Linked DNA regions of Homo sapiens: all the other regions are linked to region 2. The links are contacts of gene promoters, found by promoter capture Hi-C in human tissues and cell types (Jung and others, 2019). All regions are on one chromosome and are shown on one strand. The core of a region is centred on a gene start or on the middle of the fragment in contact, and the rest is flanking DNA. Distances in the headings are between cores, read along the strand shown. Region 1 overlaps KNTC1 (kinetochore associated 1). Region 2 holds the start of HCAR1 (hydroxycarboxylic acid receptor 1). Region 3 overlaps RSRC2 (arginine and serine rich coiled-coil 2).

What was found. Contacts are between HindIII fragments. The study calls those that stand out against the background at their distance.
Region 1: a contact is called between a fragment that was not itself captured here and the fragment with the promoter of HCAR1 in region 2, in 4 of the 25 tissues and cell types used here (liver, lymphoblastoid cells, mesenchymal stem cells and 1 more).
Region 3: a contact is called between a fragment that was not itself captured here and the fragment with the promoter of HCAR1 in region 2, in 3 of the 25 tissues and cell types used here (dorsolateral prefrontal cortex, lymphoblastoid cells and thymus).

Annotation. Positions count from the first base shown.
Region 1 is chr12:122,593,854-122,597,992 of GRCh38, forward strand. It overlaps KNTC1 (kinetochore associated 1), which reads left to right. Exons shown (of 64, transcript NM_014708.6): 43 at 423-532; 44 at 3,878-4,085. Among named protein-coding and RNA genes, the nearest start is that of KNTC1, 69 kb to the left of the region's middle. The HindIII fragment of the contact is 8,363 bases long and covers 1-4,139 here.
Region 2 is chr12:122,729,399-122,733,582 of GRCh38, forward strand. HCAR1 (hydroxycarboxylic acid receptor 1) reads right to left here and starts at 1,446. Exons shown (of 1, transcript NM_032554.4): 1 at 1-1,446. The coding sequence starts at 941. RefSeq lists an enhancer at 208-875. The HindIII fragment of the contact is 12,382 bases long and covers 1-4,184 here.
Region 3 is chr12:122,505,752-122,509,461 of GRCh38, forward strand. RSRC2 (arginine and serine rich coiled-coil 2) reads right to left here. Exons shown (of 10, transcript NM_023012.6): 8 at 2,467-2,696; 9 at 1,083-1,172. Among named protein-coding and RNA genes, the nearest start is that of ZCCHC8, 6.7 kb to the left of the region's middle. The HindIII fragment of the contact is 4,115 bases long and covers 1-3,710 here.

The DNA.
Region 1 (4,139 bases), core at 169-2,668, 140 kb before region 2:
CCTCAGCCTCCCACAGTGCTGGGATTATAGGCATGAGCCAAAACCCTGTTTTCTTTACCAAAAATATAAGACATTTTATTTGCCAACAGTTGACTTATCAGAAAGGTAATCAGTACAGAAATGCTATATGTTTTGAAGCTTAATTCTTCTGCAGTAATGGAACTGGTGTTCTGTTGACATTAACAATCAAACTTTTCAGATGAAGAGGCAATGGTTAGGATGACTAAGAGGAGTTTCGGACCCATGTACACCTCAAATCTCAGAATGATGGCTGGGTTGGGTAGTGTGAGGTTGGAGGAGCTATAGACAAATGTTTCTTTTTGAAAAAGGATACTAAGAAGGCAAGTCATGATGTTGCCCTTACTCTGATACATTTCAGTGTAGAGGGTTTTTTTGCTTTGTTTTTTTCTTTTTATTTCTAGATTTCTTTTCAACCAGTTTTCAGGCAACATTTTCTCACCAAGAAAGACCTCATTAAAGCTCTTGTGGAGAATATAGATATGGACACAAGCCTCATTTTGGAATATTGCAGGTAATTCTTTAAACATTAACGGTATTTTTGCTGTTAACAAACTGGTAATTCTTTTGCAAGAACACAGTAATAACGATGATTATTTTATGAGGTCCATAGACCACTATTTTCTTTTGCTCATTCCCAAACTGAGTAAATATGAAATCAGATTAGAGTCTCTTATGATACCACCATTTAAATTCACCATTTAGTGTTTCCCAAACTTGTCTCCTGATAAGCACTGCTTAGGGCACTTGATTTCAAATGCAGGTTTCTGGGCCTCTCTGGCAGTTCTGACTCAGTGGGTCTGGACCAAGGCCTAGAAATCGCTGGTCTCTAATAGGAGCTCAGGTGATTCCTATGATCAGAAAAGTTGGAGAATATTCTTCTGAGTAATAAACTTCTAAATCAGGTTAACTAGGGAGCAAAGTAATCTTAAAAATTAATGAAAAGTATGATTTAGGGAGAATTTCTAATTTCCTATTAAAAATGTTTATAAAAGAATTTTTATTTTTATTTAACTTCTTTCTTTATTTGAGACGGAGTCTCCCTCTGTCACCCAGGCTGGAGTGCAGTGGCGTAATCTCAGCTCACCGCAGCCTCCACCTTCAAGCCATTCTCTGGCCTCAACCTCCCAAGTAGCTGGAATTACAGGCATGCACCACCACGCCTGGCTAATTTTTATATTTTTAATAGAGATGGGGTTTCACCATGTTGGCCAGGCTGGTCCCGAACTCCTGACCTCAAGTGATTCACCCGCCTCGGCCTCCCAAAGTACTGGGATTATAGGCGTGAGCCACTGCGCCTGAACAAGAATTTTTAGAACTAAGATAAAATGTGTTATTTATAGATTCCGCTGACTTTGATAAGTAGGGATAAATGATTTGTAATTTATATCTCAGATGTTTCTGTCTAGTAAATACAAGGACTCGTTTTCTGGTTTCAGAATGCTTTCAGATCTGTCACCTCATTTAATTTTTATAGTTCTTATTGCATATGTTGCCAGTTGATATATGAGAAAACAACATAGTATGTGACCTGCTCAAGGTCAAATTATTAATGACTGCTTCTAAAATATTATGGGTGCTATAACCTCCATCTGATTTGTAACAGATTAATGGAATCTGAGTTATTGAGAATGAAACTGCTTGGTGCATTTCCTGCACTGGGCAGGCATCTAGTTCTTTGTCTCTGTGGATAGTGGGGAAAGACCGTGGCTGTCACCATCTAGTACCTGTAAGTCAAGGACTATAGGCTGCGCATAGCTCGAAGGAGCACTGACTTAAAAGAGTAGTTTGAAATAACAAAACTATGTCATTCTTCAGTTTAGAGTGTTATAAATCCAGAATAGGGTATGCACACTCTTATCTTTTTTATTAATTTGAACTACTGCTAGATTCTTCTGTGATGTTTTATGGTGCAGGACACTTTTTTGAAATTTAAATAGCTATAATGTCAAGTTCATTTCATAATTATTCTACTTACGTGGCATTGATGATTTGTATTCATATGATAGTGACACTTCTGCCTCAGGCAGTGTATCTGAATAAATTTAGATAAACTTTAGAATATCAGAGAGTGACTTGAAAATGGTGGTACTTAAGCCTTTTATTGATATTTTAGTTATGCTGTATAGCAAATTAAACTATCACTGTGTTATTAATAGGGTCTAAAAAGGCATTTCAGTTGTCATTTTGTCTATAGTAACCAGATTCTTTTTTTTTTTTTTTTTTTTTGAGACGGAGTCTCGCTCTGTCACCCAGCCTGAAGTGCAGTGGTGCAATCTTGTCTCACTGCAACCTCCACCTCCTGGGCTCAAGCGATTCTCCTGCCTCAGCCTCTTGAGTAGTTGGGATTACAGGCGCATGCCACCATGCCGGGTTAATTATTTGTATTTTAGTAGAGACCGGGTTTCACCATGTTACCTAGGCTGGTCTTGAACTCCTGAGCTCAGGCAATCCACCCGTCTCGACCTCCCAAAGTGCTAGGATTACAGGCGTGAGCCACCATGCCTGGCCTAATTTTTGTATTTTTGGTAGAGATGGGGTTTCACCATATTGGTCAGGCTGGTCTCCAACTCCTGACCTCGTGATCCACCTGCCTCGGCCTCCCAAAGTGCTGGGATTACAGGCGTGAATCACGTGCCCAGCCTGATTTTTTTTATCTTTAAAAAAAAAAAACAAAACAGCTTTTTGGCCAGGTATGGTGGCTAACGCCTATAATCCCAACACTTTGAGGGGCCAAGGCAGGAGGATCGCTTGAGGCCAGGAGTTGGAGACCAGCCTTGGTGACATAGTGAGAGCCCCATCTCTACAAAGGTAAAAAAATTCACTGAAGTGTTGTGGCGCATGCTTGTAGTTCCAGCTACTTGAGAGGTTGAGGTGGGAGGATTACTTGAGCCCAGGAGGTTGAGACTGCAGTGAGCCTTGATCATGCCGCTGCACTTTAGCCTGGGGAACAGAATGAGACCCTGTCTCAAAGAAACAAAAAAAAATCCAATTTTTGTTTTGTTGATCCTTGGTATTGTTTTTGTTTCAATTTCATTTATTTCTGCTCTGATCTTTATTCTTTTCTTTTACTAATTTTGTTTGGTTTGCTCTTCCTTTTCTACTTCTTTAAGATGTATTGTTAGGTTGTTTATGAATTTTTTCTACTTTTTTGATGTGTAGGCACTTATAGATATAAACTGTTTTCAGCTTTTAATCATTACAAAGAGTTGCTGCAGAAGACATCCTTACTAACATGTATATTTTTCTTCTTAGGTGAAATTTGTAAATGTTGCATTTTTATACTAAAGAGCATAAATATTTTCAATTTTATTACAGATTTCTCTCCAATATTCTAACAGTTTACACACCCACCAGGAATAATACCTGATTTTTTTTTTTTTTTTTTTTTTTTTGAGATGGAGCCTTGCTCTGTTGCCCAAACTGGAGTGCAGTGGTGCGATCTTGGCTCACCGCAACCTCCACCTCCCGGGTTCAAGCAATTCTCCTGCCTCAGCTTCCCGAGTAGCTGGGACTACAGCCATGCGCCACCATGCCTGGCTAATTTTTGTATTTTTAGTAGAGATGGGGTTTCACTATGTTGGCCAGGCTGGTCTCAAACTCCTGACCTCGTGATCTGTTCACCTTGGCCTCCCAAAGTGCTGGGATTACAGGTGTGAGCCACTGCACCCGGCCTAATATCTGATTTTTAAAAGGCAATAATTAGCTTTGATGACAGGTAGTTTGTCTGATTTTGAGACTGGACAATGACAAGGTTAAATTTCAACAATGGAAGCATGTACCCAAGTGTTTTGTCAGATACTTTGCATGGAAATGCCTGCAGTTTGGGAGACTGGTGTGTATTGAATGCTTCTTTTAGCACATTTCAGTTGGACTGCGATGCAGTTCTTCAGCTCTTCATTGAAACGCTGCTCCACAACACAAATGCCGGCCAAGGCCAGGGAGATGCAAGCATGGACTCTGCAAAGCGGCGGCATCCCAAACTCCTGGCCAAAGCCCTTGAGATGGTTCCTTTACTGACGAGCACAAAAGATTTGGTCATCAGTCTTAGTGGAATACTACATAAGGTAGACACACAGTGAAATGAATCGGGTCATCTCAGCCATCCCTCCCACCCTTAA
Region 2 (4,184 bases), core at 196-2,695:
GGCATCTCTTCCGGCCTTTGTGTTTTTGAGTGTCCTGGCTGCTTGGGTTTCAGACTGCAGATTTTGAGCTTGTTGTAGAATTTGGGAAAGGAGGGGCTTGAAAAATAATACACCAGGGGATCCAGCATGCTGTTCATGTAGGTGAAGCTGAGGGTTATGTGCAGGGCCCCATGGACAGAGGGATCGCAGGCACTCGAGGGCACCGTCCAGAGGAAATAGAGTCTAGCAGACACGCTGGGCAGGTAGCATGTGATGAACACAATTGCCACCACCATGATGAACCGGGTCGCCTTCTTCATCCGAGCCTGTCTGGCCAGCTGCTGCCTCCGCCTCAGGCTCCAAACAATCTTGAAGGAGCAAAATAAGATGATGCCGAGGGGCATAAAGAACTCCAGCTGGAACATGATGTCATGCCAGCCATTGGCCGACTCCATGATGAAGCTCTCACAGGAGACGGCCGTCTCTTGCACGCAGAGATGGTTCTCCAGCAAAAGATACACTGTTCCCAGGATGACCAGGGCCCACAGGGTGCAGACGATGCCAGCCGCCACCCGGGTGGAGATAGTGTTCACCGCGTGGTGGGGGTGGACCACTTTGAAATACCTGTCCGCAGCCACCACCGTAAGGAACACGATGCTCCCGGCCCTGTTCATGGCCAACGTGAAGAGCCCCACTCGGCAGGGAATGTCCCCAAAAGCCCAGTGTCTACGTCTGAGGTAATAGTCTGTCCGAAAAGGCAGGCAGATCATAAGGAGGAAATCAGCCACGGCCAAATTGAAAAGGTAAACAGTGCTGGGCTTCCAGGTCTTCATGTGGAAGCAGAAACCACACAGGGCGACCCCATTGCCTAGTGCGCCCAGCACAAAGGCCACAATGAGCAGCGGCGGCATCACCTGGGAGATGGTGTCCCCCTCGATGCGGCAGCACGACCCGTTGTACATGGCGGGGACAGAGCAAGTGTCCGGGTGCAGAGCAGCCCAGGGAGTCCCCACAATGGCACAGATGCTTATCTGAGCGTTAGCACTCACCCAGCTGCTGCGTGTCTGACTTCATCACCCAGGATGCGGGTCCTGTGTGTGTGGGTTGGATGCTGCCACAGCAGCGAGAAGAGAAACTTCAGCCAGGAAATGAGAGACCCAGGGAGGTCCTTTCTCTGGAGCCCGTCTCACAAGCCGCCTGCCTCTGGGAGAGGCCAAGCCTGGAGCCGGATGAAGCTTGGAAATGCATGCAATTTTGCAAAAGTGGTCATTTCTGAGAGGCGGTAGGGTGGGGGGGTCCGATGAGATTGATGCCGTAGAGGAGCGATTGGGTCCAGCGCCAGAGTAATTTTCATTTTCAGCTTCGCTGTTCCTCCTCGGACTCCGTGCTGGAGAGCACACAAAGCTGCCCAGAAGGCAAGAAGAAAGCTTGTTTGTCCTCCCTCCTGGTGGAGAAATCCAAACATTTCCTGGAGTGGTTCTGGGCTCCTGCCTTTGCTTTCCTCCCGTAACCTTTGCCTGACTGCCTTGTCCTCTCCCTCATCCCACGGGGCACTCCCATGCGGTGCCAGAGAGGGGAGGCTTTGCTCTGCAGCTCCTCCGGGCCATTTCCTGTGCCGAAAAATACCGCGCTCAAAAATTGGAGGAGTCTGCGGAGAGAAAAGTTCTAATCACGATACTTGATGGATGTTAGAAAAATTCTTTGACGGGAGTCACCTTTCCCCCGCTCTATTCCCACCTCCCTGCCCTTTACATCCTTCCGTGAACCAAAGTGGCCAGTTGCACAACCACCAAGACCATGAAATAGATCTGAAGCCCACTTCTCATATGTCTGTCTCCACAAAACGGCCTCTTTGGGAGCCGGTTTCCCCCTCTGCTGGGAAGCAGAGCCTAGAACTTTTACAAAGATTTGGCCCTGAGTTTCCATTGGCTGTTGAATGAGCCAAACACCATGAGATGTACGTTTTTAATTTCAATTATGTGCTGAGCCCATCAATTAAAACTGCCCCCTGGGGGCGGAAGAGGATTGGAGGAGTTGATTAAGGAGTCCATCTCTAAAGCAATCATGAGTAACATTAGACTGCACAAAAAATTGGAGTCTTTGCTAAAATTTCCTGTCCTTTGGCTTTAAGGATTATTAATCTGCCCTGTGCCTTTCAGCTTCCAGTTTAGAAAATGGGGTGGAGGCCGGGCGCGGTGGCTCACGCTTGTAATCCAAGCACTTTGGTAGGCCCAGGCGGGCGGATCACCAGGTCAGGAGATGGAGACCATCCTGGCTAACACGGTAAAACCCCGTCTCTACTAAAAATACAAAAAAATGAGCCAGGCGTGGTGGCGGGCGCCTGTAGTCCCAGCTACTCGGGAGGCTGAGGCAGGAGAATGGCGTGAACCCGGGAGGCAGAGCTTGCAGGGAGCCAAGATTGCGCCACTGCACTCCAGTCTGGGTGACAGAACCAGACTCCGTCTAAAACAAACAAACAAACAAACAAACAAAACAACAAGAAAAAGAAAAAGAAAAAAGAAAGAAAGAAGAAAATGGGGTGGAGGCCAGTCGCGGTGGCTCACATCTATAATCCCAGCACTTTGGGAGGCCGAGGCAGGTGGATGACTTGAGGTCAGGAGTACAAGACCAGCCTTGCCAACATGGTGAAACCCCATCTCTACTAAAAATATACAAAAATCAGTCAGGTGTTGTGGCATGTGTCTGTAATCCCAGTTACTCAGGAGGCTGAGGCAGGAGAATCACTTGAACCCGGGAGGTGGAGGTTGCAGTGAGCCGAGATCGTGCCAATGAACTCCAGCCTGGGTGACAGAAAGAAACTCTGTCTCAAAAAAAAAAAATGGGGCGGAAAAGAGGGGGTGCATTGAAAGAATGTGTCTGTCTTCTAGATGCACACTGAAGCTAAATTCTTCCCACTGGATGCTGGACTCCAAATCTGTCCACCCACATTCTCCCCTGCCTCGCCCTAGCACAGACCGCAGTCACTTCCCACCTGAACTGTTGAAACAGTTTCCTAACTGGTTTCCCTTCCTCTCATCTATTTCCTGTAAGTCATCTTCTACACAATAATCTGATTTTTCTGAAGCACAGATATTATCATATACCTTTTTTCACTTAAAAATCTTCACTAGCTCCCTTCAATCTGCCAAGGGGCTAGAATGATGGCCTGTGGACCATATCTGGTTTAAAAACCAGCCTGGCTTGGCCGATATGTTTTTAAAACCTGGTGCAGTCCTATAAAAACCTGGATTTCTGTTGTCTCTTAGAACACTGGAAGATCTGGCCACACTGGACCGACACTCCCACATGGAAACAATCAGCTGGAGCTTAGAGTAGATGGAGTAGAGACAGAGAATGAGCCCCTGTAGACAGAGAATGAGCTTTACTGTTTGCCACAGTCCCCACCACTCCCTATTGCCTTACACCTGGTTGGCTTTCCTCATTGGCAAGCCTAGTCTCTGTGGGATTTTGAGTTTGTCACCTCTTGCTCTAGGTTGAAGGTCACATTCCTTGGATTGACGTACAAGGTCCTTCACAGTTGGTTCCCAACCTACCTTTCCAGTATGATTTTCCTGCCACTTTCCTCCTTCCACCCTACTCGCTAGTCTCATAACCTCTAATAAATAAAAACGTGTTCGTCAAACGTCTATATCTAGTTCCCCCACAAATTCAGGAGTTCTTTGAAGACAAACTTCATACTCTTGGCCTGGATGACTAACTCCTACTTTTCTCCTTCTTTCTTTCCTTCCGTCTTTCTTTCTTTCTTTCTTTCTTTTCTTTCTTTCTCTCTCTCTCTTTCTCTCTGTCTCTCTCTCTCTCCCTCTCTGCCTCCCTCCCTCTCTCTCTTTCTTTTTTTTTTGAGACAGAGTCTGGCTCTGTTGTCCAGGCTGGAGTGCAGTGGCTCTGTCTTGGCTCACTGTAGCCTCAACCTCCCAGGCTCAAGCCATCCTCTTACCTTAGCTTCCTGAGTGGCTGGGACTACAGGTGCATGCTACCATGCCCAGCTAATTTTTGTATTTTTTGTAGAGACGGGGTTTTGCCATGTTGTCCAGGTCTCAAACTCCGGGGCTCAAGTGATCCACCCACCTTGACCTCTCAAATGTGCTGACATTACAGGTGTAAGCCACCATGCCAAGCCTAACTCCTACTTTTCATGAGAGCTCATTGTAACCACTTTCACTCTGTGGGCCTTTGTGATTCTGTGA
Region 3 (3,710 bases), core at 639-3,138, 220 kb before region 2:
AATATTCTCTCACTTGACACTATTTTTTATGTATTTTTTTTTTTTGAGATGGAGTCTTGCTCTGTTGTCCCGTCTGGAGTGCAGTGGTGCCATCTCGGCTCACTGCAACCTCTGCCTCCTGGGTTTAAGTAATTCTTATGCCTCAGCCTCCCAAATAGCTGGGATTAGAGGCACATGCCACCACGCCCAGCTAATTTTTGTATTTTCAGTAGAGACGGGGTTTCACCACATTGGTCAGGCTGGTCTCGAACTCCTGACCTCAGGGATCCCCCCTGCCGCCTGCCCCCCGGCCTCCCGAAGTGTTGGGATTACAGGTGTGAACTAGGCTGACACTATTAAATTATACTTTTGGCCGGGTGCAGTGTGGCTCACGCCTGTAATCCCAGCACTTTGGGAGGCTGAGACGGGTGGATCACCTGAGGTCAGGATTTCGAGACTAGCCTGGCCAACATGGTGAAACCCCGTCTATACTAAAAACAAAAAACAAACAAACAAAAATATACTTTTGGGATATGTATTTGATCTCAATAACTTAATTTCCATTCATTATTGAACACCTCCAAAGGACAAGGCAATGTTCTTTCTAGGTCTGGAATATAGCAGGGTGTAACAAAAGTTAACTTCAGTTTAGTAGGTTGGAAAAAACATAATATGTAGAAGATGTCAGGGTATAAATGCCACAGAGGAAAGTAAAGTAGAAAATGGGGATGGAGGCTGGGCGCAGTGGCTCAGAACTGTGATCCAGGGCTTTGAGAGGCCGAGGTGGAAGGACTGCTTGAGCCTCGAAGTTTAAGGCTGCAGTGAGGTATGACTGCACCACTGTACTCCAGCCCAAGTGACAGAGCAAGCAGAGCAAAACCCCGTCTCTCTCTCTCTCTCCAAGTGTGTGTGTAGGGAGGACAGTGGGTAGGGGAGATGGAAATGTTTCAGAATGGGATTGCTTGTTATTTCACAAAAGGTGGTGGGAAAGAACTCAAAAACGCTGACACCTGAGTAAAGACCAGAACTAAGAAAATGAGGGAAGAACAGTGCAGGAGGGCTAATAGCTAATACAAAGATCCCCTGGCACATGTGAAACTCACCTTAATACCCATCAATTTCCTAAATTTGACATTTTGGTCCTTGTTTCCAAAATTCAATTTTTCCCATATTTCAGCAGATTGGGATTTGTCCTGTTAACAAACACTGAACTTTAAAATATGTAAAATTTAAATATTTTTTAGGACATGAAATCTCTCAACAATGTCTAAATTAAAAAAAAAAACACCATGGATAGCATTCAATCAATGTAAGTTTAATTATTTCAAGACTTAAGAAACCACAAAGCAAAGAAATACAAGCAAGAGGTTGGCGCCGTGCTTCACTCCTATAATCCCAGCACTTTGGAAGGCCGAGGTGGGCAAATCACCTGAGGTCAGGGGATCGAGACTAGCCTGGATGACTAGGTGAAACCCCGTCTCTACTAAAAATACAAAAAACTAGCCTGGCATGGTGGTGGGCACCTGTAGACCCAGGAGGGTCTCAGGAGTCTGAGGCAGGAGAATTGCTTGAACCTGGGAGGCAGAGGTTGCAGTGAGCTGAGATCACACCACTGCATTCCAGCCTGGGTGACAAGAGCAAGACTCTGTCTCAAAAATAATAAAAATAAAATAAAAAAATGGATTATTTTCCTGTCATAGACCTTTTTCAACATGCAATTTTTGCGACTGCATGTCATTTGCATTTAATGTCATTTGTCATTGCAAATAATGTCAAAAAAAAAAAAGTACCTCATAATCTATGAAAAATTCTAAACCAAGTAGCCTCTTTTCCTTACTACTTCTATGGTAATATTAGTTTTCTTTGAAAGCTTGACTTCAATCAATTATGTTTTATTTTAGTATTAATAACTGGCAAATAAGACTATCATAGCTTATTATAAGTTTTTTGAGACAGGGTCTCACCCAGGCTGAAGTGCAGTGGCGTGATTTTTTTTTTTTTTTTCCAGATGGAGTTTCGCTGGAAACTCACTGCAACCTCCGCCTCCCAGGATCAAGTGATTCTCCTGTTTCAGCCTCCCAAGTAGCTGGGATTACAGGTGCCCACCACCATGCCTGGCTAAGTGGCATGATCTTGGCTCACTGTATGTAGGCTCTGCATCCCAGGCTCAAGCGATTCTCCTGCCTCAGCCTCCCAAGCACCTGGGATTACAGGTGTGTGCCACCACACCCAGCTGATTTTTATCTTCTTTTCAGTAGAGACAGGGTTTTGCCATGTTGGCCAGGCTGGTCTTGGACTCCTTACCTCAACTGATCCGCTCACTTGGCATCCCAAAGTGCTGGGATTAAAGGCATAAGCCACCCGCGTCTGGCCACCCCAGGTTCTTACAAAGTTAAGCCGAAAGTAATATTTTTCAACCCAAATTTGTTTTTCTAAGCAATTACTAATTAGGAATAAACGACAGAAAAGCAGAATAAGAGAACTTACCCCTTCTTTCTTGCCCTGCCAAAGCATTTTCCTTTTTTTCTCTTGTTCAGCAAATTTCATTGGATTAACAGCGGCTGGGTTATAGTAGCTAGGAACAGCTATTCCTGTCTCTGCCAAAGCTTTAGCTTGCAGGGCTGCCATCTGAGCTGCCATGGCTATCTGAGGTGTTACTTGTGTTCCTGATGCCAACAGGGCAGCAACATTGAGAACAGAACCTCCAGTAGCTGCAGCTGCTTGAAGAGAATACAAAAATGGATTTTAAAACGATTTTAAAACATAAACCTCCTGATTTACATTAACGAACGATTTATAAAAAGCTATGAATGTGCAAAAAGGCAGGATTTTCACCAAATCCAAGGAAATGACTGAGTATTAGCTCACAAGTTTTTAGCAAACATTTATTGTGTTCATCAACGGACATATTTCTACATAAACCCTTGATATATAAACCATTTATTGCAAGGCGCAGTGGCTCACGCCTGTAATCCCAGCACTTTGGGAGGCTGAGGTGGGCGGATCACCTGAGGTTGGGAGTTCGAGACCAGCCTGACCAACATGGAGAAACCCCGTCTCTACCAAAAATACAAAATTAGCCGGGCGTGGTGGTACATGCCCGTAATCTCAGCTACTCGGGAGGCTGACGCAGGAGAATCACTTGAACCCAAAAGGCGAAGGTTGCAGTGAGTCGAGATCATGCCACTGCACTCCAGCCTGGGCAACAAGAGCGAAACTCCGTATCAAAACAAAAAAAAAACCCATTTATTTACTTTGAGGATAGAGAATTCTGCAAATAGTAAGAAAGTATGATTTCAGTGGAGATGAACTATAGTGTTTCTAAGGTATAATTACAAAACAATAAAACCTTGTATTTTTTTAAATTTATGAAATGTTCTCATGGACATTTCATTTGATGCTCACATCATATACTTGAAAAACAGTATGCAGCTAAGGCTGGGCGCAGTGGCTCACGTCTGTAATCCCAGCACTTTAGGAGGCCAAGACAGGCGGATCACAAGGTCAGGAGTTCGAGACCAGCCTGGCCAACATAGTGAAACCCCGTCTCAAATAAAAACTACAAAAAAATTAGCCAGGCGTGGTGGCAGGCGCCTATAAGCCCAGGTACTCAGGAGGCTGAGGCAGGAGAATCACTTGAACCCGAGAGGTGGAGGTTGTTGTGAGTCAGGATTGTGCCACTGTACTCCAGCACAGGCGACAGTATGAGCCTCCGTCTCAAAAAAAAAAAC